4 separate regions of the Homo sapiens genome follow, and regions 2, 3 and 4 are each linked to region 1. Evidence: promoter capture Hi-C in human tissues and cell types (Jung and others, 2019). All regions are on one chromosome and are shown on one strand. Each heading gives the region's core, a stretch centred on a gene start or on the middle of the fragment in contact. The rest is flanking DNA. Distances are from core to core; before and after follow the strand shown. Region 1 holds the start of KCNK9 (potassium two pore domain channel subfamily K member 9). Region 2 overlaps TRAPPC9 (trafficking protein particle complex subunit 9). Region 3 overlaps TRAPPC9 (trafficking protein particle complex subunit 9). Region 4 has its middle 300 kb from the start of COL22A1.

The links. Contacts are between HindIII fragments. The study calls those that stand out against the background at their distance.
Region 2: a fragment that was not itself captured here is called in contact with the fragment with the promoter of KCNK9 in region 1 in 2 of the 25 tissues and cell types used here (H1 embryonic stem cells and dorsolateral prefrontal cortex).
Region 3: a fragment that was not itself captured here is called in contact with the fragment with the promoter of KCNK9 in region 1 in 2 of the 25 tissues and cell types used here (mesendoderm cells and spleen).
Region 4: a fragment that was not itself captured here is called in contact with the fragment with the promoter of KCNK9 in region 1 in 1 of the 25 tissues and cell types used here (dorsolateral prefrontal cortex).

Annotation. Positions count from the first base shown.
Region 1 is chr8:139,698,999-139,704,856 of GRCh38, reverse strand. It overlaps KCNK9 (potassium two pore domain channel subfamily K member 9), which reads left to right and starts at 1,734. Exons shown (of 2, transcript NM_001282534.2): 1 at 1,734-2,147. The coding sequence starts at 1,865. RefSeq lists a silencer at 1,717-2,011. The HindIII fragment of the contact is 18,854 bases long and covers 1-5,858 here.
Region 2 is chr8:139,992,097-139,997,852 of GRCh38, reverse strand. All of the region lies in intron 18 of TRAPPC9 (trafficking protein particle complex subunit 9), which reads left to right. Among named protein-coding and RNA genes, the nearest start is that of C8orf17, 64 kb to the right of the region's middle. The HindIII fragment of the contact is 7,978 bases long and covers 1-5,474 here.
Region 3 is chr8:140,009,612-140,015,039 of GRCh38, reverse strand. The region is part of intron 18 of TRAPPC9 (trafficking protein particle complex subunit 9); the gene reads left to right. Among named protein-coding and RNA genes, the nearest start is that of C8orf17, 81 kb to the right of the region's middle. The HindIII fragment of the contact is 6,590 bases long and covers 1-4,572 here.
Region 4 is chr8:139,212,549-139,218,699 of GRCh38, reverse strand. No RefSeq gene overlaps it. Among named protein-coding and RNA genes, the nearest start is that of COL22A1, 300 kb to the right of the region's middle. RefSeq lists enhancers at 2,996-3,135, 2,527-3,726. The HindIII fragment of the contact is 3,763 bases long and covers 1,181-4,943 here.

The DNA.
Region 1 (5,858 bases), core at 485-2,984:
CCGCTGTCCTGACTCCAAAAGTGGCGGCCCATGCTGTCCTTAGCGCTCTCCAGGGAAACGACTCGGGTCTGCAGGTGCTGGCCCAAGCGGGCTGTGCCGCTGGGAGGCGAGGGGGCCGAGGCAGCCCTCGGGACCCCACCACTCCACGAGGCCATGTCCCTGGCCAATGACACGCTCCCGCGCCGGGTGGCTAGGTGGGGGGTGGGGGGTGGGGAAGACTTCGTGAACCGCTGCTGCCGCTCTCCTGTGTGCCCATGGCCCCCTCCCCTTCTGCTCCCCACTCTCTGCCCAATCTGCCTGAAGCTGTCAGCCTGCCATCTCTGGCTGAATCCCGTTTTCCTCCTCCAACCCCGAGTCCCTCAAACTCTCCACCCGCCAGGGCTGCTTGCGCTCTTGGGGAGCGGGGCTAGAAGGACCCAAGAAGCCGCGTTTATCCTCCCATCCCCCGCCAAAACCCGCCGGCGGCTCCGCCCCCGCCCCCTCCCTGGCGGCTCAGGCCGCCCCTCCCGGGCTCCCTCCGCGTGCGCCCTGCGCCGCGCTGGGTCTGCAGCGGGAGCTGCCACAGCAGCCTCGCCAGCTGGCTGGGGACCAGGCGGGAGGTGGCGCGCCCTGGAGGCTGCGGGAGGGAGGGAGGGAGGGAGGCCCGGCCTCGGCGTAGCCCGGCCCCCGCTCCCCGAGGCCCTCCCGCCGGAGCGGGGCTGCCAAGCGCACACACACACACACACACACACGCACATACACACGCGCACACACACATTCGGGCTCCCAACGGCGCGCACGCACGTAGCGCCCGGGGCAGACCAGCGCGGCGGCCGCCTCCCGGGACGCCCGGACGCCGGAGGGCCCCGACCCCCGCGCGGCTCATGCGCCCGCGTCCGCCCCGCTGCTCCGCGAGGCCCGCGGGACCCCTCCCGCCGCCGCCGCCGCGCCCGCCGCCCCCGGAGGAGCGGGCTGGCCGACCGCCACCGCGCCGTCCCCCGGCCGCCCCCGAAGCCGCTCCATCGCGGTCCCTGCCGTCCTGGGGCCGCGCCCCGCTCCCGCGCCTTGGGGGTTGAGCCGAGCAAACTTCGCGCACCGGCCGACGCCCGGCGGGGACCCCGCTGCGCACCCGCGCGCCCGGGTGGGCGCTGGGCGCGCGGACCTTTGGGGAGCGGGCTGCCCCTCCCGCTGCACCTGCTCGGCCCCCTCCCCGCTTGCAGGGGACTCCAGAGACACCGCCACTTCGCAAACTTTTCCTCCCCACCACCGAGAGGGGGCGAGGAGGGGTAAAAGGGGAAGCAGGTTCCGCTGGGCGCGCGGACCTGCAGGCTCCTTGCTGGGCACCGCCACCCGCGAGCTGGACCCACAGGGGTACCGGGCCCCGCGGCCGCCCTCCGGCCGCTTTCTGGCTCCGGTTCCCGTCCCTGCGTTTCCCGCGGGAGCGGGGGGCGGGGTGCGGAGGGCAGCAAGGCCCGCGCGGTACCCAGCGGGGCCGCCCTGCATGGCCCTGCGCAGTGGGGCGGGCTGCTTCGGCCGGGTCTGGCGCAGGGTGTCGGGGTTCCCGGACGCCTGGCCCCGGCGCTCGAGCAGCCTCCTGTGCCTGTCCGCCTTCTCGGCTGAGCCCGGGCCCGCGCCGCCCCTGCCCCGCCAGCCGCCTCGCGGTGGCGGTGGCTGTGGCGGCCCCAGCGGAGGGGGCCCCCCCCAGCCTCCCCGCCCCCCGCCTCCCCGCTGCTGCTGCTGCTGCTGCCGCCGCCGCTTACAACTTGGAGGCGGCGGCGGCGGCGGCGGAGGAGGAGGCGGCGGCGGCCGCCGGGCGCTGCAGTGGGACGCGCGCGGCTGTGAGCCTGCGGGACATGCCCCCCGCGCCGGCTCCTTGCTGGCGGCCATGAAGAGGCAGAACGTGCGGACTCTGTCCCTCATCGTCTGCACCTTCACCTACCTGCTGGTGGGCGCCGCCGTGTTCGACGCCCTCGAGTCGGACCACGAGATGCGCGAGGAGGAGAAACTCAAAGCCGAGGAGATCCGGATCAAGGGGAAGTACAACATCAGCAGCGAGGACTACCGGCAGCTGGAGCTGGTGATCCTGCAGTCGGAACCGCACCGCGCCGGCGTCCAGTGGAAATTCGCCGGCTCCTTCTACTTTGCGATCACGGTCATCACCACCATAGGTAAGGGCTGGGCGCGCCGCTGGGCTCCCGCGCCCCGGGAGGAGTCCGGGGAGGCGGCTGAGCGCGCCGCGCCGGGCTGGGTGCAGGGCGTCGAGGGTTAAACGCAGCCTCCCTTGGGGGCCTTCCCGCAGCGCCCCCTCCTCTCTAGGGAGCCCCCCCTCCGCGGCGCCTCCGAGCCTCACCCTTCGGGGACCCCACCCGGTGCTCTCCACCGCGCTGGTGTCTGGGCCGGGCGTGCGAGCCCCGAGCGAGTGTGCCTGAGCCGGGAGGGCGGAGGCGCCACTTTTGCGAAGAGAGTGGAGCGCTAAGAATAATCCCATAGCAGACACCCACCCACCCACCGCCCCGGCGCGGGCTGGGCTGCGCGGGGCTCTGAGCCTTACACTTACTACCTCTCTGGGAGTTGGAGAGGGCTGGCCTGGCACCCATGGCTCCTAGAGGGACTCAGGTGGCAGGGGAGTGCGCCTGGGGCGTGAGAGGCACTGACCCTCCGTAGCCCCTGGGCCCCGCTCCAGGCTTCTCTGAGCTCAGATTTCATCTCTCTTCCCCCCGCCCGGCTCCTTTTTTCCCCTGAGTTCCAGTTCTGGAGCTTGGACTTCCCAGGCCCCTGGGAGGAGAGAGTTTGCTCTCTGGTGCTTGCGTTGGGGGTGGCAGCCCCTCAATTGCTCTCAGTAGAGGTGGAGAGTGGGGGCAGGGCAGAACCTGCCCACTCCCTAGGCTGTGACACTGGGAAAGGCCAGTCTAGACATTGCCCAGAAACCAGGGAACTTGAGCCCCAGTCACGAGAGGGGGTCCAGCTGGTAAACTGCAGGGATGCCCGCCAGCCCCACTGCCAAGGGCGCTATTCACAGAGCAGGGTCTCTGGTCGGTCCCGAGGGCAGTGTCCCCTCTAAGGCTGGGGGCTGGGAGGACTCCCGGACGTTATACTTGGAGACCTGTGGGAGCTGGGGCAGGTACCTTCATTCGGGTGGACGTGGTGGATACCCTGCATGGCAGGAGGCAGGGTGGTGTCTCTGTGGTTCACTTGCCCCAGTGAGGCAGGCTGCCTCTCTAGGGCCATCTCCTTGGACTTGCCAAGGCCAGTGTGTTAGTGGGGGTGGTCTGTTTCCTGCACCCCTCAGGGCTTCACACCCCTGTGCCCTGGGCAGGGACCTCCTCCTTCCCCCCTCCCTTCTTCCCAGCTCCTCCTGTCTCGCTTCTCTGGACCTCCTCCTCTAATTTCCCTCTTGATATTTTTCTTTGTCTGGAAATCTCTGCATACTGAAAAAAAAAGGATTTCTCAGTGCCATATGCAACAGGAAGCGCCAGCACAGGACGGCCTGTCTTTCCTTCTTGGTTGAAAATACTTTTTAGAGAGTCATCTTGTTTTAAATGTTTAATTCATTGGTGCAGGTTTTTCTGTTTGTGAAGGAAATTGTCCTTCTGTTATCTACATAATCAGCTTGGCTCTTGCTTGCCCCACGCCCTTTGCCCAGCACCCCAAACACAGATGACTCCTTCCCTTCCCACACTGTGTTTCCAGCTTCTGAGAGGGCCAGTCATTGCCATTTTCTCTGGCTTTAAACTGTGGCAGTGGCACGCAGATGCACAGGGCAGTGATTCTGGGAGACAGGGGCCTGTTTGCTGGAGAGCTGGAGAGTAAGAAATATGCCTCTGAAACTGGCCACCCCTGGGGAAAGGAGAAAGCCCCAAGGCCCTTAAACATGCCTTTAGGGTTGAAGATGGAAGACAGGTGAATTTGGCTAGCATGCTGGCTTCCAGTAGTAAAACAGGCACATAAAATGCTTGGCTGATCCCGAGAGTTGAGCGACAACATCGAGGAGAGGATTGGTGTTAAAAGCAAACTCTGAAATGTGCCAGTTTTCCTTAAGAAATGCATTGTGGAGACTGATGAAGTTCTTACTGAGGTGTGTTTCCATGGTTGATTCTGATTGGTAGCTCTGGGTGTATGCCTGTAACGGTTAAAACTCCAAAGAGAAGCTGTCAAGGGAAGTGTAGCTAAATGGAGGGTGTCGGCTTCGCCTCAGGGGCTGTGGGACTTGTATGAATAAGGGACCAGAGGCCATCTGAGGAATTCGCTGATTTTCCTCGCTTCCTTCTTTGGGCTTTCCACTGATTTTCTGGAAAGAAAGGTTGGGAAAAAAATGTGTGTGTGTGTGTGTGTGCGCGCGTGTGTGTGTGTGTGTGTGCGCGCGCGCGCGTGTGTGTGTGTGTGTGTGTGTGTATGTGTATGTGAATAAAAGACAGCTCTAACACTAACACAGCTGTCCTGTTGTGGAAAGATGTTCAACTTGGAACCCACAGACCTGGCTTGGAATCTGAATTCGGCCATAGTGTAAAGACCAGAGAGAGGTCATTTCCCAACTCCTGACCTCAGTTTCCCCACCTGCAGAAGAGATGTCTCACAATAACTACCTGACAGGCTGACTTTTAAGGTCCAGCTGAGATCCCGCGGGCTGCAGCTGCCAGGCACAGTGTGGCCGGCACTTAGTAGGAACGGAATCCACGCTCTTGGACGAAGCCTGATCGAGCCTCCGCTCTCTGCCCTAAGAAGCTGTTTAGCACAAGAGTTCAAATTTACAGGAAACAAAGCACCTTTCCAGTTAATTCTGTTTGTTTTTTTTTCTTTTTTTAATATAAATGCAAATTAAGATGCTCCTAGGCCTAGAACAAAACCCGGCCCCAAGCCTCGCCCTCCAAGGATTTGTCTCCTATTGGGCAGTGATATTAATGAGTCAGGTTAATCTTCATTGGCGTTTTGATTTTTAATCTAACCTTGAGCTATTTCTTGAGCATGCTTTAACTTTTTGCCCAAATCTCCAAGGCTGGGACAGGAGCCGCTGGTGCTGGGCGGCCACGAATGAAGGCTTCTTCTCAGATGCAGCTATTAGCTTGCCCTGTGAAATGGATTTTTAAAACGTATGTAATTACCACTTTGCGTTGAATCTGTGGCCGAGCCTTCCTAAAAGGCTTTGGAGGGATATTACCCTGAGTCTCACCCCAGCTCTCTGGGGATCCCGGGGCACAGTGACCATTGTCATAACCAGGGAAGAACGGGAGTCCAGCTGGGCCCCGCAAAGGGCAAATTCAGTTACATCATTTATCAGGCTCTGTTTCCATTCCTCCCCATTTGCTTCCTTTGATGTCTGTGCCACTTGTAGCTATTTCTGCGGAGATTATGTTTAGTTCTAAACTTGTGAAGTGCTAGACCTTTGCATGGGAGACCCTCGTAGGTACCCTGTAGTTTCCTTTTGATTAGGGGTTCAGTCTGAGTTTCCCCCCAACCCCCGCCCCACCACCTGTTGGTGGAAGTGGTGAAAGTCAGGAGTGCTGGGCCAGGGTCTGGACAGGGGTGGAGGAGTTTTATTTGGATTTGGCCTGCTTGGGGCCAAATGGTGTGTAAGGGACCCCTGGAACACACATGTGACCTTCCTTCAGCAGGCGCTTTAGCCTCTCCCCACGATCCAACAGAGTTAGAGTCTCCATGACACTTCTTTCTCCAATCTAACATCTGTGACCTGAGCTGTTATCACCTTCAGGATCATTAAAAAAGAAGAAACCATCAGATCTTAGAAATCAGATCTCATCTGCAGAGTGTAGAGGACAATTTGAAATCGGGCTTAGGTAGGGAAGGAGAGGTGGGTTTTTCCTTTTCTTGCTACAGTTTGCAGGAGCGGAAGCCGTACATCAGGGGCAGTATTTCCCCAGAAC
Region 2 (5,756 bases), core at 236-2,735, 290 kb before region 1:
TGGGATGCATTGTCTCCCTGTGTGGGATGCATTGTCTCCCTGTGTAGGATGCATTGTCTCCCTGTGTAGGATGCACTGTCTCCCCTGTGTAGGATGCACTGTCTCCCTGTGTAGGATGCATTGTTTCCCCTGTGTGGGATGCATTGTCTCCCTGTGTAGGATGCATTGTCTCCCCTGTGTAGGATGCACTGTCTCCCTGTGTAGGATGCATTGTTTCCCCTGTGTGGGATGCATTGTCTCCCTGTGTAGGATGCATTGTCTCCCCTGGGTAGGATGCATTGTTCCCCTGGGTAGGATGCGTTGTCTCTTCTGTGTAGGATGCATTGTCTCCCCTGTGTAGAATGCATTGTCTCCCCTGTGTGGAATGCATTGTCTCCCCTGTGTGGGATATATTGTCTCCTCTGTGTGGGATGCATTGTTCTCCTGGGTAGGATGCATTGTCTCTTCTGTGTGGGATGCATTGTCTCCCTGTGTAGGATGCGTTGTCTGCCCTGTGTAGGATGCGTTGTCTGCCCTGTGTAGGATGTATTTTCTCCCCTGGGTAGGATGCATTGTCTTCTCTGTGTAGGGTGCATTGTCTCCCCTGTGAGGGTTGCATTGTCTCCCCTATGAAGGATGCACTGTCTCCCTAGTGTAGAATGCATTATCTCTTCTGTGCAGGATGCATTGTCTCCTCTGTGTAGAATTCATTGTTTCCCTGTGCAGGATGTATTGTTTGCTCTGGCAGCTTTCCAGATGGCTTCTGTTCTTTAGCTTTCTGCAGTTTGATTATGTTTCCAGGCAGGGATTAAAAAAAATAGTTTTTGGGTCAGGCGTGATGGCTCACGCCTGTAATCCCAGCACTTTGGGAGGCAGAGGTGGGTGGATCACCTGAGGTCAGGCATTCGAGACCAGCCTGGCCAACGTGGCAAAATCCCGTGTCTACTAAAAATACCATAAAAAATGTTTAGCCTGGTGTGGTGGTGTGTGCCTGTAATGCCAGCTACTTGGGAGGCTGAGGCAGGAGAATCGCTTGAACCTGGGAGGCAGAGGTTGCAATGAGCCGAGATCACGCCATTGCACTCCAACCTGGGTGACAGAGCGAGACTCTGTCTCAAAAGCAAACAAACAAACAAAAAAATAGCAACAACAGCAAAAACAAAAAACTTTTTGGGTTTCTGAATCTGTTTATGTCATTTGCCAATTCTTTTTGGGGGTGTGGCCATTATTTATTTAAAAATGGCATGTTATTTTCTTCTTTGTTTCTTAGTCTCCTGTGACGTGATTTTTAGAGGTTTCGTTGTCCCATAAGAGTGTTTTTTTTTTCTGTTTTATTTTCCCCTGTTGTTTCCATTGGATAATCTGTTAATCTATCTTCACATTTACTTGTTTAATTCCTTACTGATCCCAAAAACACATTGTATGATTTTTATTTTACAGTTGTTAGAGTTCCCCCACCACCCCCAACCCATGGTCTTGGAATGTGATTGGTGGTAAATATTGCATGTACACTTGGGTAGTATGATTATTCTGCTGCTTTTGGGTGGAATGTTCTCTGAGTATTAGTGAGATCTGGGTGGTCAATGGTAATTTTGTTTATCTTATATTCTTTCTGATTTTATGTCTACTTGTCCTCTCAGTTACTAAGATAATTCACCATGTGGTGAATTTTTCTTTTTTTCTTTCCTTTCTTTTTTTTTTTTTTTTTTTTTTTTGCTTAAGTTTTTCTGGTTCTTTTTTTATCTTCTTTTTCGCTGAGATTTTCCGTCTTTTCACTTGTTTCAAGTATGGTCAGTTCTTGGAATGCATTTAAAGTCTCTTTCTAATAAGACAGTCATCTTGAAGTTATTGTCTGTTACTTACTTTTTCCTCATGACTTGATATTTTCCTGGTTCTGTGTTGAGTTATTTTAGATCGTATTCTGGACATCTTGACTATAATATTGGGAGGCATTGGGATCTTGTTTGAATACTGAGGAAAATGTTGGTACTTTTTTTTTTTTTTTTTTTTTTAATGCAGAGTACCTTTTGCAGGCTGTGCTGCAGTTCCAGTTTCAAAGCATTTGTGGTGCTTCTTGGATCAGCCGCATGTGGGTGCCCGTCGGCATTCTTGCCTGGAGATCAGTTATCAAAGCCCGTGGTTTGCTCTTGAGGGTCTGATTCTGTCAAGCTCAGCTCCCTGGTGAGCTTAGGAGTTCATGCTTGACTTTGTCTGCTCTCTGAATCAATCTCCTTTCTGAAATCTTCCCAAATTACTGGGGGCTCTTATCCCTATGTGCCTGCTACAAAGGCAGGATATGAGCTTCCCCCTCTGTGTGTCTACATGGAGGACTGACTGTCCAGAGGCACAGAGAAGGAAATCAGAGTGATGCAAACTGGCCCCCTGGTTTTGGGACCTCAGCTCTTTGGGTCAGTGAGGTGGTTTGTATCAGGGAGGTGTGTGAGCCTGTCCCGCCAATACTGCTCTGATGTCATTATCTCCTGTGGTTTGCTTTGAGGCTGGGCTGGGAGAAAAGGGAAGAAAAAAGGGAAAAGACTCAGGGATTCTCCTACTTTCTGTGGCCCTTCATAGTACCTTTTCCCACTTGTTGGACCAGGAAGAGAGGCTGCCCTGGGAGCTCTGTCTGGCTATACACAGGGCACGCCTCTGGAGTCCACGCTGCCTTTCAGTTGAGGCCAGGTGGTACTGGAGAGAGATGCAGCTCACTGCCAGTTCAGAATAACTTCAGTTTCTGGCTCCTACTGTGATCCACCTTCTAACATTTATTTTTTGAGTCTTCATCTTCAGCTCAGTGCATTCTATGATTTATAGTTGCATTCAGTGGGAGAGACAGGGTAGATTGTGCTTACTCCATCTTTTCCAGAATTGGAACTCACCATTTTTTTTTTTTAAACACAAACCAATTCATGTCACTCATCTGCTTAAAACTCTCAAAATACCTTCCCATTTTGCTTGGAATGAAATATGAGTATTTCCCCATGACCTTTCCTCTGTTTTTACTCCTACACCACTCTCTGCTTGTTCTGTTCCTTGATCACACTGTGCCTTACGATTTTTGCTTTAACTGCTCATTCTCTCTGGAAAGCTGTCCTCCAAGACCATCACATGATTGCTTTCTTGTTGTTGGATTCCTAACTGAAACATCATTTCTTCAGGGAGGCCCTTGTTTACCATCAGATCTGAAGTCATTTTAAAACATCCGTGTTAATGTCAAGAGACTCACTTAATTTTTAAGAAATAGTTGTGTCATACATGTCTTATGCTCTGCCTCATATAGTAGCCCACTTTTAGACTAGCTATTGCCGTGGCAACCAAATTTATGCAGGTGTCACCTGACAGCACCTTACCATAGCCGTCGTGAGCATCTCTTGCTTTCTGGAATATTCTAACTGCCTTCTCTGAGGCTGTAGGTTTGGGTGGCTATGGGTAGTCTCTCTGCACAGTGCATGGATGAAGTGTGAGAGAACTGACCCCTCTGGGGGAAAGCTTGACTAGTGAGGGAAAGAGTTGGGAGAGCAATTATTTCCTCTTCTGTGCCTCAGGCGCACAGTGTGAAGCGCAATCCTCTCGGCTCCACAGAAGGACGATGATTGAGCCCCAGCTGCCCACAGGGCCGCCAGCTCAGCGACGCACAGCAACATGCCCTCTGGCATCACCTTCTCCTCTGCTGCCCCACTTTGCCTACTCTACATGCTTCCTGGCATCCCTTCCCTAAGCACTAGCTCTGTGCAAACCCTTTTCTCAGGCTCTGCTTTCTGGGGGGATCCCAGGCTAACACATTAGTCTAAATGACTTTAAAAGTAACTTTTTATAAGACATTTCAAGTATAAGAAACATAAATAAATGTCTAGGAGGTATCAATTTGTCTACCATACAGACTTGTCCATTTTTAATATTTCAGTATATTATATTTGCTTTTATGTTTTTAATTTAAAGAAATAAAAATATGCTGTTAAAGCTCTGTATATTCTTCCACACTGTGTCTCTTGCTCTCTTAGCATGAATGACTACTCTTAAATTTGATATTTATAGATAATATCGAGTATTTTAAAACATATTTTAAAATTTGATATACATATATATTGTATATCTTCTGCAACTTATTTACCCAGCAGTTTTAATATGAGATTTGTCTGTGGTGGGGCATATAGTTCTTTTAAATTCATTGTCACCTCTGCATAGGTTTCCATCATATAACTCTACCATTGTATGTCTGTATCTACTCTCCAGTTGATGTGCACTTAGTTAAAAGCAGTTCTTTACTTTTATAAATGATGTTGCATTGAACACTTTTGAATGTGCCCCTTTACCAAACTCTGAGTTGATCCAAGATAGGCAGCTACAAATGGAATTGTTCGGTCAAACTCTTTTTCTGTCTGAAGGAGTTGTACCAATTTGTATCCCTACCAGCAGTGACAGGAATTCCCGTATTTCCTGTTGATCTATAGCTTGACCAACTCTTGGTACTGGGACGCTTTAAAAATATTACCAATAGGTTGGGTGAGAAATAATACTCTTGGGGTTTATTTCCATTTCTCTAACTACTAGTTGGATTGAGCTTCTGTTCCTGTTTATTGGTCATTGGGTTTCCCCTACTTTAAATTATTGATTCTTGTCCTTTGCTTAATTTTCTATTGGGTCATTTTTTTCTTACTGATTTATAGGAGTTCTCTATAAATTCAGAATTCAAATCCTTAGTCAATTTAATATGTTGCAAATGCCTGTGAAAAGATATTTGCAACGCATTAAAAATGAAGCTTGTCTTTGCTTTGGTTTTTGATGTTTTTCATTGTACCAAAATTCTTAATTTTAATGCAGCCAAACATTTTATTCTTTTCCCTTATATTTTATATGTATTGTAACTCATTTGAGAAGTCTTTCTTTTTTCCAAGGTCATGAACTGTTCATCTATATTTTGTCTAAAGATTTTTAAATATTGTTTTTCTATATTTAGCTATTCATTCTGTTTGGAATTTATTTTTATATATGATGTGAGGTAGGGATCTAATTTTCTGTGTACCTGCATAGTCATTTTTCCCAGCACTATTCAGTGACTCTTGTCCTAATTAATCAATGCCACCAATACAATCATCTCTCCAGTTTCCTTATATTCATGGGTCTGCTTTGTAGCTATCTTTTCTTTCACTAATGTATTTCTCTGTCACTGCCCCAAGTGCCTCTGTCTTCATGATTACAGCCTTATAACAATTCCTGACATCTAGTAGGCCAGATTCCTTCCAAAAAACCTCCCACATCATTGTTTTAACAAAACCCTTTTGGGATTTTTCTTATTGAGTTGCATTGAGTTTATAGAAATTTGGAAAGAGATAATTTCTTTAAAAATATTAAGTCTTTCCATCTTTGAACATAACGTGGGTTGAGCATCCCAAAACTTGAAATGCTCCAAAATTCAAAACTTTTTGAGCACTGACGTGATGCTCAAAGGAAATGTTTATTGGAGTGTTTTGCATCTCCGAGTTTTGGATTTGGGATGCTCACTTGGTGAGTATAATGCAGGTATTCCAAAATCTAAAAACAAAATTTGAAACACATCTGGTCCAAGCATACTCAACCTGTACATCTCTACACTTATTTTTCTTCTTTAATATTGTTCCATGAATTTATAATTTTTTACATAAATATCGTGCATATATTTTGTTAGATTTATTTCTACCTGTGTTGTGGACTGTGTTGCTATTATAAATGTATTTTCTCAAAAAGTTTGTCTTGTAATTGTTTTTAGTTGATGTGTATGACTGGGATTGATTGTATGTCTT
Region 3 (5,428 bases), core at 28-2,527, 310 kb before region 1:
AGTTATTTACTCCTGGGGTAGTCTGTTTGTCTGCTCCTCTCACTGATACTGATAATTTCTGCAGTTTTTCTTATTGGTATTTTTTAAAATGATGGTTTTCTATATGAGAGCATGGGAAGGAAGAGCAGTCCTATTTATTCACGGCCTGCTAGACTCCAGGGCATGCCCTGGGTGTTGCGTCGGGCATCCCATGCACACTCCCGAGAACCCTCTGACATTGGCATTCCTATCTGGGGGTGTTACATTCCTCACCTTGTCCTGTGCGTTCGTGAGTGGAAGGGAGGCAATCTGAACTGTGGCCTTGGGGACACCCAGACCAAAGCTTGCTGCCACACCTGCTCTGACCTGGGAGCCTGGAGTCCTGGACTCTGGTGTCTATTCTGCCGCTGGACAGACCCTTTGTAGGAGCCGTATCTTTGGAGGAGTGTGTTTCTCTGCCGCAGCTTGGTCTCTGCACTCCCTAGGGGGAGAGTGAGCCTCTTAGCTCTGCTCACCTCACCAGGGCGATAAGAGAATCCATTTAAATAACAGAGGGGGCAGTTTTTTCTAAATGCCAAAGCCCAATATAGATAGGTAGAATTCTCATTATTATTATTATTATTTTTACTGTTCTCCCACCAGGGAGTACATAGGTCTCAGTTGACTTTTATTTAAAAGATCAAATTACCTTTGAGATTTGCTTTTTACACAGAGCTGCCTGGTAACCTTGTTAGGGACGAGATGGAAATGGATTAGGCTGGACCATCCCTGTCTGAGTGCCGAGCCTCCCTCTCTCCTGAGGAGCAATTTCTTTCTAGCCTGTTACAATAAACGATCCACTCTTAGACATTTCTACTCTGATCTATGTGGAAAATACACTCCTCTGAGCGGGGCGTGGGGTGTAATCGTTACGACATTATTGATAGACACCCTGCCACCGAGGCCTTCGTCACTTTCCCTGTGTGGTGGGGACAGCTCACCCATGGAAGGGGCACTGTGGAGTTTTATCGTGGTAGATCTTTTTCCAGTTGCTATGTTTACTTAGTAGATTGGTTTTAAATTTAACAAGAATTTAGAATTGCAGTGCACACCAGGAGTGAGAGCCCCATGCGCCTGTATCTGATTTCCAGTGTTGATTCTCCTGCTCATTGGCGCTGTGGTTTTGAGCGAGCCATTCACATTTCTCTCAGCATCATTTTTCCTTCATCTTGAAAAGGAGATAACACTGACTGTGCAGGGTTGTAAAACTGTGTGTTATAAAGTGTCTGAAAAATTATTAACAGTGCCTGACACAAGGCAGATAATTGAAAATTGGTGGTTGTCATTTTCCTTGTGTGTATGCACTTCTGTTGTGTGTCAGGTTCTAGGGACAAAGGGATGAGCCAGTCTTGTAAACACAGGCGGCTTTGCAGCAGCTGGCTCCAGCACTCCCGAAGGACATCACTGACCTCAGCGGATCCTGAAGCCTTTGTTGGCCTCCCTTTCACCTATGGTCAGCTCTCTGAAGGCAGCCACTCTGTGACTCTTTGTTTGGGCAGCAGCAGGTGAAGTAAGTAGTCAGTGGTCAACCGAAGTTTTGAAGAAACGCTGCAGTGTGAACGATGTGTGGCAGGAGCTTTGGAGACAGAACAACTAGATTTGCGTTGACCAGCCGGAGGACCTACAGTGGGATTTGAGTTGTTTGTTTAGACGACTGGGGAGTACAGTTTCCTTTCCTTAGGGTCAGGAGTGGCTTGACAGGAAGTGCAGTGCTGGAGAAGGGAGAAGTTTGGAGCCCCAGTACAGACAGGTTCCTGGAGGAGTGCACGGAGAGGCGGGGTCACGGTCCGAGTGGAACCCAGCTGCTGCGACTGTGATGGGCTTGATGGGCTTGAACTCCATCTGGCCCTTACCTGCCGAGCAGGTACCCAAGAGCAGCAGCATCTTTTCACAAAAGCATTAATTATCCATTACACTTAGGGTCCCATTGACCAGGCTGTTAGCGTTCTTCCTGCCTCTGTGTGGCCCGCTCAGCCCTGTGCATGTAGGTGTTGAGGCGCTGTCGTCTCAGTGTGTGTAAAGGAACTGGATCTGGATGGTTATTGAGCACACACTAAGTGCCAGTTGCCTTGCTACACACCCTGCTCTCCCTGTAACCCCTTTGCTTCCTTAGGAAGCATTTTCCAGGTGTTGCCACTTTTCAGAACTTACGGTGACCCTCTGCAAGGTGAGGTAGTCCCTCAATCCCCTTCAGAGGCTCATGGGAGACTTCAGCGCCTGTCCTTGTACATTTGACATGCTAGGGAGTGTGGGCTAGAGAACGTGTTGCCCCGTGTTGCAGGTGAGGGACTCAGGCAGAGTGAGAAGAAAGAACGAGCTTGGTGTTGTTCGTGGCTGCATCAGGACCCTAGTCACTGGGGGGCCTCGGCCTGACCAGCAGGATGCAGGAGGGCCGAGAGGTGGAGGACCTGGGTTTTGGAGGCTGACTGCCTCATGTTGGAATCCCAGCTCTGCCATGTTGGGCAAGTTACAGAATCTTTATAAAGCGGGCCTCCTTATCGGGCTGTCGGGAGGATTCCAGTAAGAAACTGTGTGCCTGATGCGTGGCAAGCCTGCAGCGCATGGGGTCCACGCCCTTCTTCCCTCTCATTCTCAGTCTTTACAGGTATGTTACAGGCAGTGTCTTTTCTGTGTCTCCCCTTTTAAGTAAGTCTCTCAGATGACTGGCACGTGATAGGGACATAGTAAATAACTGTGGCAGGGTACCTTGATTTTGTGGAGGGAAGAAAGGATTTGAAATTAGAGGGGATGGAACTCTACTTCCTGCCTTGAACAGGCCTCTTAGATACTCTGAGCCCCGCATTGCCTTATCTATAAATAGTAGGATGATTATATAAAATAATACGTTTTTTCCCCCCACTTCTTTCTTCTAAAAGCTAGTCATTCAAACTTGTTATACAAAATGTATGCCTGGCCGGGCGCGGTGGCTCACGCCTGCAGTCCCAGCACTTTGGGAGGCCAAGGCGGGCAGATCATGAGGTCAAGAGATCAAGATCATCCTGGTCAACATAGTGAAACCCCATCTCTACTAAAAATGCAAAAATTGTCTGGCGCAGTGGCTCATGCCTGTAATCCTAGCACTTTGGGAGGCTGAGGCAGGAGGATCACCTGAGGTCAGGAGTTTGAGACCAGCCTGGCCAACATGGTGAAACCCTGTCTCTACAAAAAATACAAAAATTAGCTGGGTGAGATGGCAGGCACCTGTAATCCCAGCTACTCAGGAGGCTGAGGCAGGAGAATCACTTAAACCCAGGAGGCAGAGGTTGCAGTGAGCCGAGATCGTGCCATTGCACTCCAGCCTGGGCTACAGAGCAAGACTCCGTCAAAAAAAAAAAAAAAAAAAAAAAAAAATTAGCTGGGTGTGGTGGCATGCACCTGTAGTCCCAGCTACTTGGGAGGCTGAGGTAGGAGAATCACTTGAACCCGGGAGGCAGAGGTTGCAGTGAGCCGAGATTGTACCACTGCACTCCAGCCTGGTGACGGAGTGAGACTCCGTCTCAAAAAAAAAAAAAAAAAAAAAGTATGCCTTCTGGAAGCATGTTAAGTAGAGACGAGTATCTGTTGCAATATCATCTCACATAGACACCCATTATTAAAAATTTGACACAAATTTTTCCAAATTTTTAATTCATCTAAATATATATAATATTGTTACTATTATTTTTATTTTTAAATTTTTCGAGACTGACCCTTGCTCTGTTGCCCAGGCTGGAGTGCAGTGGTACAATCTTGGCTCACTGCAACCTCTGCCTCCTGGGTTCAAGTGATTCTCCTGCCTCAGTCTCCCATGTAGCTGGGATTACAGGCGCCTGCCTCACCACGCCCAGCTAATTTTTGTATTTTTAGTAGAGATGGGGTTTCACCTTGTTGGCCAGGCCGGTCTTGAACTCCTGACCTCAGGGGACCCTCCCTTCTCGGCCTCCCAAAGTGCCAGTATTACAGGCTTGAGCCACCATGCCCTGCCTGTTACCATTATTTTTAAAATAGAAGTAAAATTTTAATCTTTTGCAAATTAAAAAAATACGATACATGTTGATCATCTTTCCACATCAGTAAATCTAGGTCTCCTCATTTGTTTACAGATCATGTGCCCTTCTGTCCGATAGATACCCCATAATGTGTTAAATGCTTCTCTGTTGAGTGAGGTTTGTTTTCTATGTTCTACTGTTTCAAGCAGTTTTGCATTGGACATTCTTGTATATAAACTTTGTGCATACGTGGGTGGTTTTTGTAATATAAATTCTAAAAATTTAGTTTTAATATGGAATCTTCCTCCATAATTTACCCTCCTGAGCATGTGAGACTGTTCGTTTCTCCCTATCATAGACATCATTGAATATCTCATTCTTTTCATGAAGGTTTGCAGTTTGATGGATGTGAAATATCTCACTGTGTATAATTTTAATTTCCTTAGTTTTGAGTAAGGTAAACCATCTTTATGTTTACTGAACATTTGCATTTCTTCTGTGTATTCTCTTATATGTAATCTTGGCCTCTTCAAAAATTTGTATTAATCTTTTTCCATTCATCTTCAGGAAGTTTTGTGTGCCGTATATTTTAACCTTATCTGAATTTGCTATCTGCATTTTACTACAAATTATTTTGGTCACCTTTTGCGAACATTTTTAGTAAAATTATTTTGTTCTTATTGGCTTCATTCGGGCTTCAGTAAAAAAAACTTACCCTACTTAAGATTAGACATGTGTTCTCCTTGATTTCCTGCTAATATATTTGTAATTTTACATTGAGATTATTCATCCATCTTTCATATGTTTTTTGTAGATGGTGTGATATTGGGAACTAATTTTTTAAATTGCAAAAATCTAAGATTTTACAAAATCTAAAATTGAAAGTATTCCACAAATTTAGTTGTTAAAACTGTTAAAAATTAAATTTCGATTTGTTATTCATGGTATAAATAAATAATGAAATAAGACTTACAAAAAGTCATAAGTAATTTCTAGATTTTGGTCTGTCATTTTAAATTGTTCATCAGAAATTCTTGGTATAGAGTACAGTGAAGTTTGCATCAATGGACCTGGTTCCCCGCAGCCTCACCAGCATAGCGTTCATCTTCCCTCCCTCTCTCCCTCCTTGGAACTAATACTCCTTGCACCCTATTTTCTGCGAAGCACTGTCCTAGGCACTGAAGACAGCAATGAGTAAAGTTGAGTTCATGCTCTCAAAGAGCTTATATTTGAATGGAGAAGGATAGGCGAGAAGCATAAATGTAGCAGGTTGTGTAGACAGCAAACATCAGCATAGCAGGGGGGACGTGCTATGAAAAGCTGGAGAGCTGCTTTCAGAGAATGTGCTGTTGCGCCACGGGCGGGAGTGGATGTCAGTCCTGCCGCAGTAATTCTGGGACAGGAGTAGGTCAAGGTGGAAAGAATGGTCAGGTTCTGGATAT
Region 4 (6,151 bases), core at 1,813-4,312, 490 kb after region 1:
GTAAGATTTTCATTCTGATTTCTCTGCCTTCCAGCAGTGGTCCTTTGTCAGCTGGATTATGTGGGATCGTAGCCCCCATACCCTCAATCACGAATTGGCAAACACACTGAGGAAAAGTCAGGTGCAGAGTGTGAGTATATTTTTCTGCATTTCCTTTCAAAACTCTTGGTTCCCCAAATCCCAAATGCTGCCATAGCGATCTGACTCCTTGGAACACATCTTCTGCTCCTCTGTGGGCTCTTCTGTTTGTTCTTCAGGTTGCATTGCTCTGCTGCTTGCCACTCCATCATGGCTGGAGGCAGAAGTCCTCAGGGGAGAATTCGATCTAGGTGGTGGCATTTCTGATGAACCCAAGAAGTGGAGCTGATACAGGCAGGTCACTTGGCAGCTTCAGAAACGAAGCTACAGCAGAGGCAGGTTGTAGGCAGAGTAAAAAGCATAAGCAAAGTAAGGAGGAAGAAATGGTGAACACTGGGGTAGGAAATGAATAGTTCAGAATGGCTGGAGCTATTTTATTATGGGGAATGAAGCTGGAGAAGTGGTTTGGTGGCCAACTTTGAAGAACCTTGAATTTGGGCTCCCCCTCCATGACACAGCAGAAAGCTATTAAGAGATTTCACCAAGGCTGGAATTTCTGAGAAATCTTTCAGCAGACAGTTCTGACAATTCAGTGAAGCACCCTGTGGGTCTGAGATGGGGGGGACCAGAGGAGCTGGGGAAACGGCAGGTTGACAGGGAGTGTAGCATTTGTAATGATGTATGTGTGGGGTGTGGGGGAGTGTGGCAGGACTAGATAGGAGGAGAGGCGTGGAGGAGACCCTGGGGGAACCCTGAAAGTTCTTCCTGAGCTTAATGTTGTGTTGTCTTTCCTATTAAGCTGGCCATTCATGAGTCACGAATCTGTAGACATATGTGTCAACTTACATTCTAAAAAACAAGGCAAAATTAACATGGAGAGTTTTATCTGGGCCAAGATTGAGCACGGCTGCCCAGCTCAGGACACTCTGGGAAATGCTGTAGAGAACAAAGACGGCAGCTAGAGATTTGAGAGAAAAAAGGACAACTCAGGAGAGGGGGCGATTACAAAAGTCGTGTTTCAGGTAATCTCACTGTTTTACAGGAATGATGTTGATATGTTATTGGCTCATGTTATTCAGGTTTAGAATATGAGTTATGGTTTCCAGTGTTTGGCATTGTTAGGTTAATTTCTGGCTACTTACTGTCAGCTAGTCTAGAGTCCACATAGCAAGTAGCTTCCAGAAGTGATTACTTACCTCAGGCAGGGAGTGAGAGGTGACTGCCACATTTCAATGCCTCTCTGGGCCTGATAATTTCAAGGAGCTCACATTCCTCAGACAAAAAATTTGTCTTTCTCATTTGTAAATCCTTCTAAGAGGGAAGCAACTGTCTGGCTTTGAATCCATAAGAATTTATAAAAGGCAGAGGCTAAGAATGACATTTCTCATTCATACAATTATAATGATCAATCAGTGTTTGCTTTCCTCTGGGACAAAGGTTCAGGACGGAAAGCAATTGCCTGTTGAGTGTGCCTCTTTCTCAGGAGAGCTAGTTCACCGCCCGGCAGGCAGGAAGCCTCGCGAGGGAGCATTCACCTTGATTAATGCACCAGCATCCAGGGGCTTGCAGGCTCGGAAAGATGATTTCAACAGCCCCCGGGGGTGTTGGCTTCGCTTAGAGGGCGCTCACATTAGCTAATCGCGCAGGAGTGGATAAAGTGAACCAAACGCCACTTTATTAAATTACAATGAGAAGTAGTTCTGCCACACTGGTAGATGTATATTCATGTGTCAATCCCATTCTCTCCCTGTTAAGCAGACCTATCAGAAATACCTGGAACCTTTGAATAATTCAGGAAAATAGTCAGAGCTATGCACACAAATATTTACATGTGCAAATGTTACAGTGTAATTTGTGATAGAAACAAAACAATTAAACACCCTGCAGTGAGGGGATCAGTTGAATAAATTATGGTAGAGCCAAATAATGAACTAGCAGGCAATGATTTAGAATTATATTGATAATTAATGTGCAAAATACAGGCAATATATTCATTTAACAAAGCAGATTGAAAAAGTATGTCATCATTGAATGTGTGTGCACAAAGAGGAGAGAGGCTAGAGTAAAACATTACATTTTTGACATTTATCCCACAGTGATCGTCCTTGTATTTGCTTGAATTTTCCATTTACTCCTAAGGAACATTTACCATGTTTACATTTAAAGTATGTTTATATGTATGCTTACATATCACATATCAACATATGACATGGCTGTAGAAGAAGTTTCAGACAGCAGAGTATCCTAGCAGAAACCTTTTGGAGTCAGGCAGATCTGTCTGAAATCAAGACTGCCAATTTCTAGCTTTTAGAGCTTAGGTTTTAAAAAAAGATAATTTACCTTTCTTTGCATTTGTTTATTCAAAATGGGGATAAATGGGAACTACCTTATATGATTTTTGTGAGCTAAAATGTAAAGCATTTAGCATATCATGAGTGCTCAAATGAGGGAACTATTTTTATTATTGTGAAAGGAGAAGATGACTCAGTTTTCTTCCATACAGGGGCTCTTGCAGATGTGATTTTGTGACTCAGAGCAGAGGCTGCTGATTGGATGGTTCGAAATTTTCCTGGCTTCAGGGCATGCAGCTGCGAGTGTCCTTGGGGTGAAGGCAGCTGGGCCCAGGGCAGCTCTTGCTGGGCACCGCCAAAGTTGGCCTTGATGACCTTCCTTTCTTTCTGTTCTCCATGGACTGACCTGTCCTGCTCCAGTGTGTCTGTGTTTTTGTATGTTAATGACGTTAGTCTGGGCAAGGATGGTCATAGGTCATCCCTTCTCCTTAGGAAGAACAGGGACGTCTCTGCTCATCCTCTTTTGTCTCTCTGATGACCTCAGAATTAATTTATGACCACAAAGCACAGACAGGTATAAATACGGCGCCTCCTATGAACCCCCTGCACACACAGCATGTGTCTTGCTTCCAGTACTGATAGACGACAAGGACAACAACACAGGTTCTGGAACTTCTAAGCCCAGGCCTCACTGACACTCTTGCAGTTGGGTTTTTTGTTTTTGTTTTTTTTTTAAAGCAATGTTTAAATTCAAGCTCTGCCTAGTCTTTCTAGCTGTATGATTTGGGGTGAGTCACTTCCTCTCTCTGGGCCTCTGCCAATTTCAGATCTCCCACCTGAAAGGGCCTTTATGCCTCATCATGTCCAACCTCCTCATTTTTTTTTTCTGGTGAACAAACAATCACTCCACCCCCATCCCAAACACTCTGTGGCCTCATTGATCAGCCTTGGCTCACCCTCACCCCCTTCTCCAGAACAGTGGAGGCTTGGAGTCACAGAAGAGAGGACCTTAGGAAGGAGGAGGGAGCTGATGACTCATGGAGGGGATTTGACAGCCGCCTCCTTTGCGGAACCAGGAAATTCATTAGGATGGAGTCTCATGCCCCGAGGAATTGCATTTCTGATTTTAGTTTTCCGTTATCGACCTTTATTTTGCTAATTACAGCTATGGCTATGATGTGTTGGGTCCCTGTTATAAGCAAGTGCAAGGTATACGAACGTTTTCTATCTAATTCTTATGTCAATGTTTCAAGGACATTAATGTTATCCCTATTTCCAAGATGAGGATATTGCATATTAGAGATTAGATTTAGAGATGACTGGCTGTCAGACCGCTAATAGTGAGCTGTATAATAAAATTGGTGATTACTAAAACAGGAATAAGGTGGAAAGCTTATTAAATCTCACTTTCTCTTTTACAAGTGAGGAGAATGAGGCTTAGAGATGATGGGGAGAAGGTCCAAGTTCACACGGCTGAATGGTATTTCAAGGACTCAGACCTCCCTGTCTCTTCCACGGCCTTCATGCAGCCTCTCCTTGCATCCACCGTTAGCTCTAAGATATTGCTCGATGTCTGTGTCACTGGGCTGCCTCTGCTAGGTTCATTTTGGAAACGAGCCCTCTCTCCAGTATTTAGAGATGTCCATGGATTCAGGCATATCCATCCACAGTCGTAAGTCCTTTTGGAGAAAATCTGACTCAGCGTTTTAATACAAGATAAAAGAGTATCCCCAAAGAGCCACCTGCAGCCTGATCAAGAGTGGCAAGAGGAGGGCATAGATCCAGATGGCCTTGGTGAGAGAGAGGAACTGAGAACAGTACTAAATAGTCTGCCATTCTGTATTATCCTGGTAATTTTGGTCACCTCATTACCTGTCTTTCGGAATCACTGTCTTCTTGGTTCCTGAATAGTGTGCTTAGAACAATCCTGGGGTGATATTTACCATAGTTCAGGGTCAGACTCCATATCAAATTATATTGCATGTATAGTCAGAGTGTGTGAGTATACAGTAGGTGCTTAATAATTACTTGTTGAATAAATGAGCAAAAGAATGAGAGTCTGACTTTCATATATCCAGGTCGTGGACTCAAAGTGATCAGAGAACCAGAATGGCTCAATTCAGCAGAAGGACCACAGACTGATGCCAAGCAGATGTGACTTCACATGCTGGGGTTGACAGACTGATGCCAAACAGACGTGACTTCACATGCTGGTGTTGACGTGTATTCATGACATTTGAGACTCAGTTCTCTTTTTTCTAAAAGAGGATGACAAGTTCTTACCTGTGTGGTTGTTGGGAGGATTAAAATTTTGGGCCTAGTGCCTAACAAAGTACTGAGCAAATGTTAGCTATTGCTGATGCTGTTCTACTGTAACTGTGAGTTTTAACTTATGAAGATGATGGCAATGATAAAGTCTGGCCAATAGTCCTGGGCAGAGTGGGCCAAGTCCATCAGACCGGCAAAGGCTGGGGCCAGGGATGCAAGGAGCTCCAGCGGACCCTTTCCAGGAGTTTAGCCTTCGATTCTAGGAAATGCAATAAAGTAAGCCCAGGACAGATGCTGGCGTCGGGCTGCCGTAGGGTGAGCAGACGAGTCATCCTGGCTTAGAGGGATGTGGAGGGTGGATTCCACTGGGCTATAAAATCTATGAGTAGAAAGAGGCGTGGGCTGGTTTTGTTGCCTTTTCTAAATTGTGCTGTTTGCACTGAGTTCTGTTTCAGTGAATCCTGAGAGAGCCTCTGTCTAGAGACCAGAGTGAGACGATGGAGGAGGTGGGAGGTAGAGGCCCCGCGGCCGCCTCTTCCTGGGCCTGCAGCGCCCTCTTGTGGCTCAGAGCCAGAGCATCCACTCCAGGATTCTGCAGGTGCTGCTGCAGAAGGGGTGCTCCTGGGCTTCCCACCCTCCTAGGGGCTGTGCTGTGTGGCTTCTCTTTGGAACCCGGAGCCCTGAGAGAGAAGGAAGAGGAGGGAAGACCTCCCGTCGTGTTCCAAGATGGGCGCCTGTGATGGACCTCAGGTGTGCTAACTGGCCAGATGACCTGCAATTATCTGCCTAGGCTCTTTGAGCCTGGGTCCTCATAGCTGTGTTATGAGATGAAAGAAGGCAGACAGTGTACCTGGAAGCACCTTGTTTTCTGACACCCAGTAGTTTCACATTAAAAATTAGTTATCTTGCCTTCAATATTTTCCTTTCTCTGCTAGATAAAATTGCTAAAATCCAGAGAAGTGAGCCTTCTGTTCTTTTAATAGATGCTAGTCCAGTGCTAAAGGGTGATGCATTCACCAATCTCTAAAACCTGTGTCCTAGATTCAAATTTGTCTATCTTTCTGTTTGACCTGGGAAGTTACCTAAACCCTTTGTGACTCAGTGTCCTCATTGGTAAAGTTAGAATAATACGATCTGTCTTGCAGACACCTTATGAGAATTATGTTAGTATTTGGGAAGAGTTTGAATACTACGTGGAGCTAGTATTTTTGATGTCTTCTCATTATAGTCTCATCACCATCCTTGTTGTAGTTAGTGCTGTGTGAGAGAGGGGGAGAACCTTCTAGTGGAGACTAGGAAGGGCCTGGAGATACGATGATGTTAGATCCCGAGCAGTTCCAATTTCCTTGGAGTAGAAAGCAGATAATGTTATGAGGCAAAACTGAGGAAGGGTCTCGGTACTCATGGAGTTTGGATTTTATCCTAGAGGGACCTTGAAGACTTATAAGGGAAGATGTGGGGACAAGCGTCATGTCCCACAAAAACAAGCTTATGTCTGTGGTCGAAAACTCGTA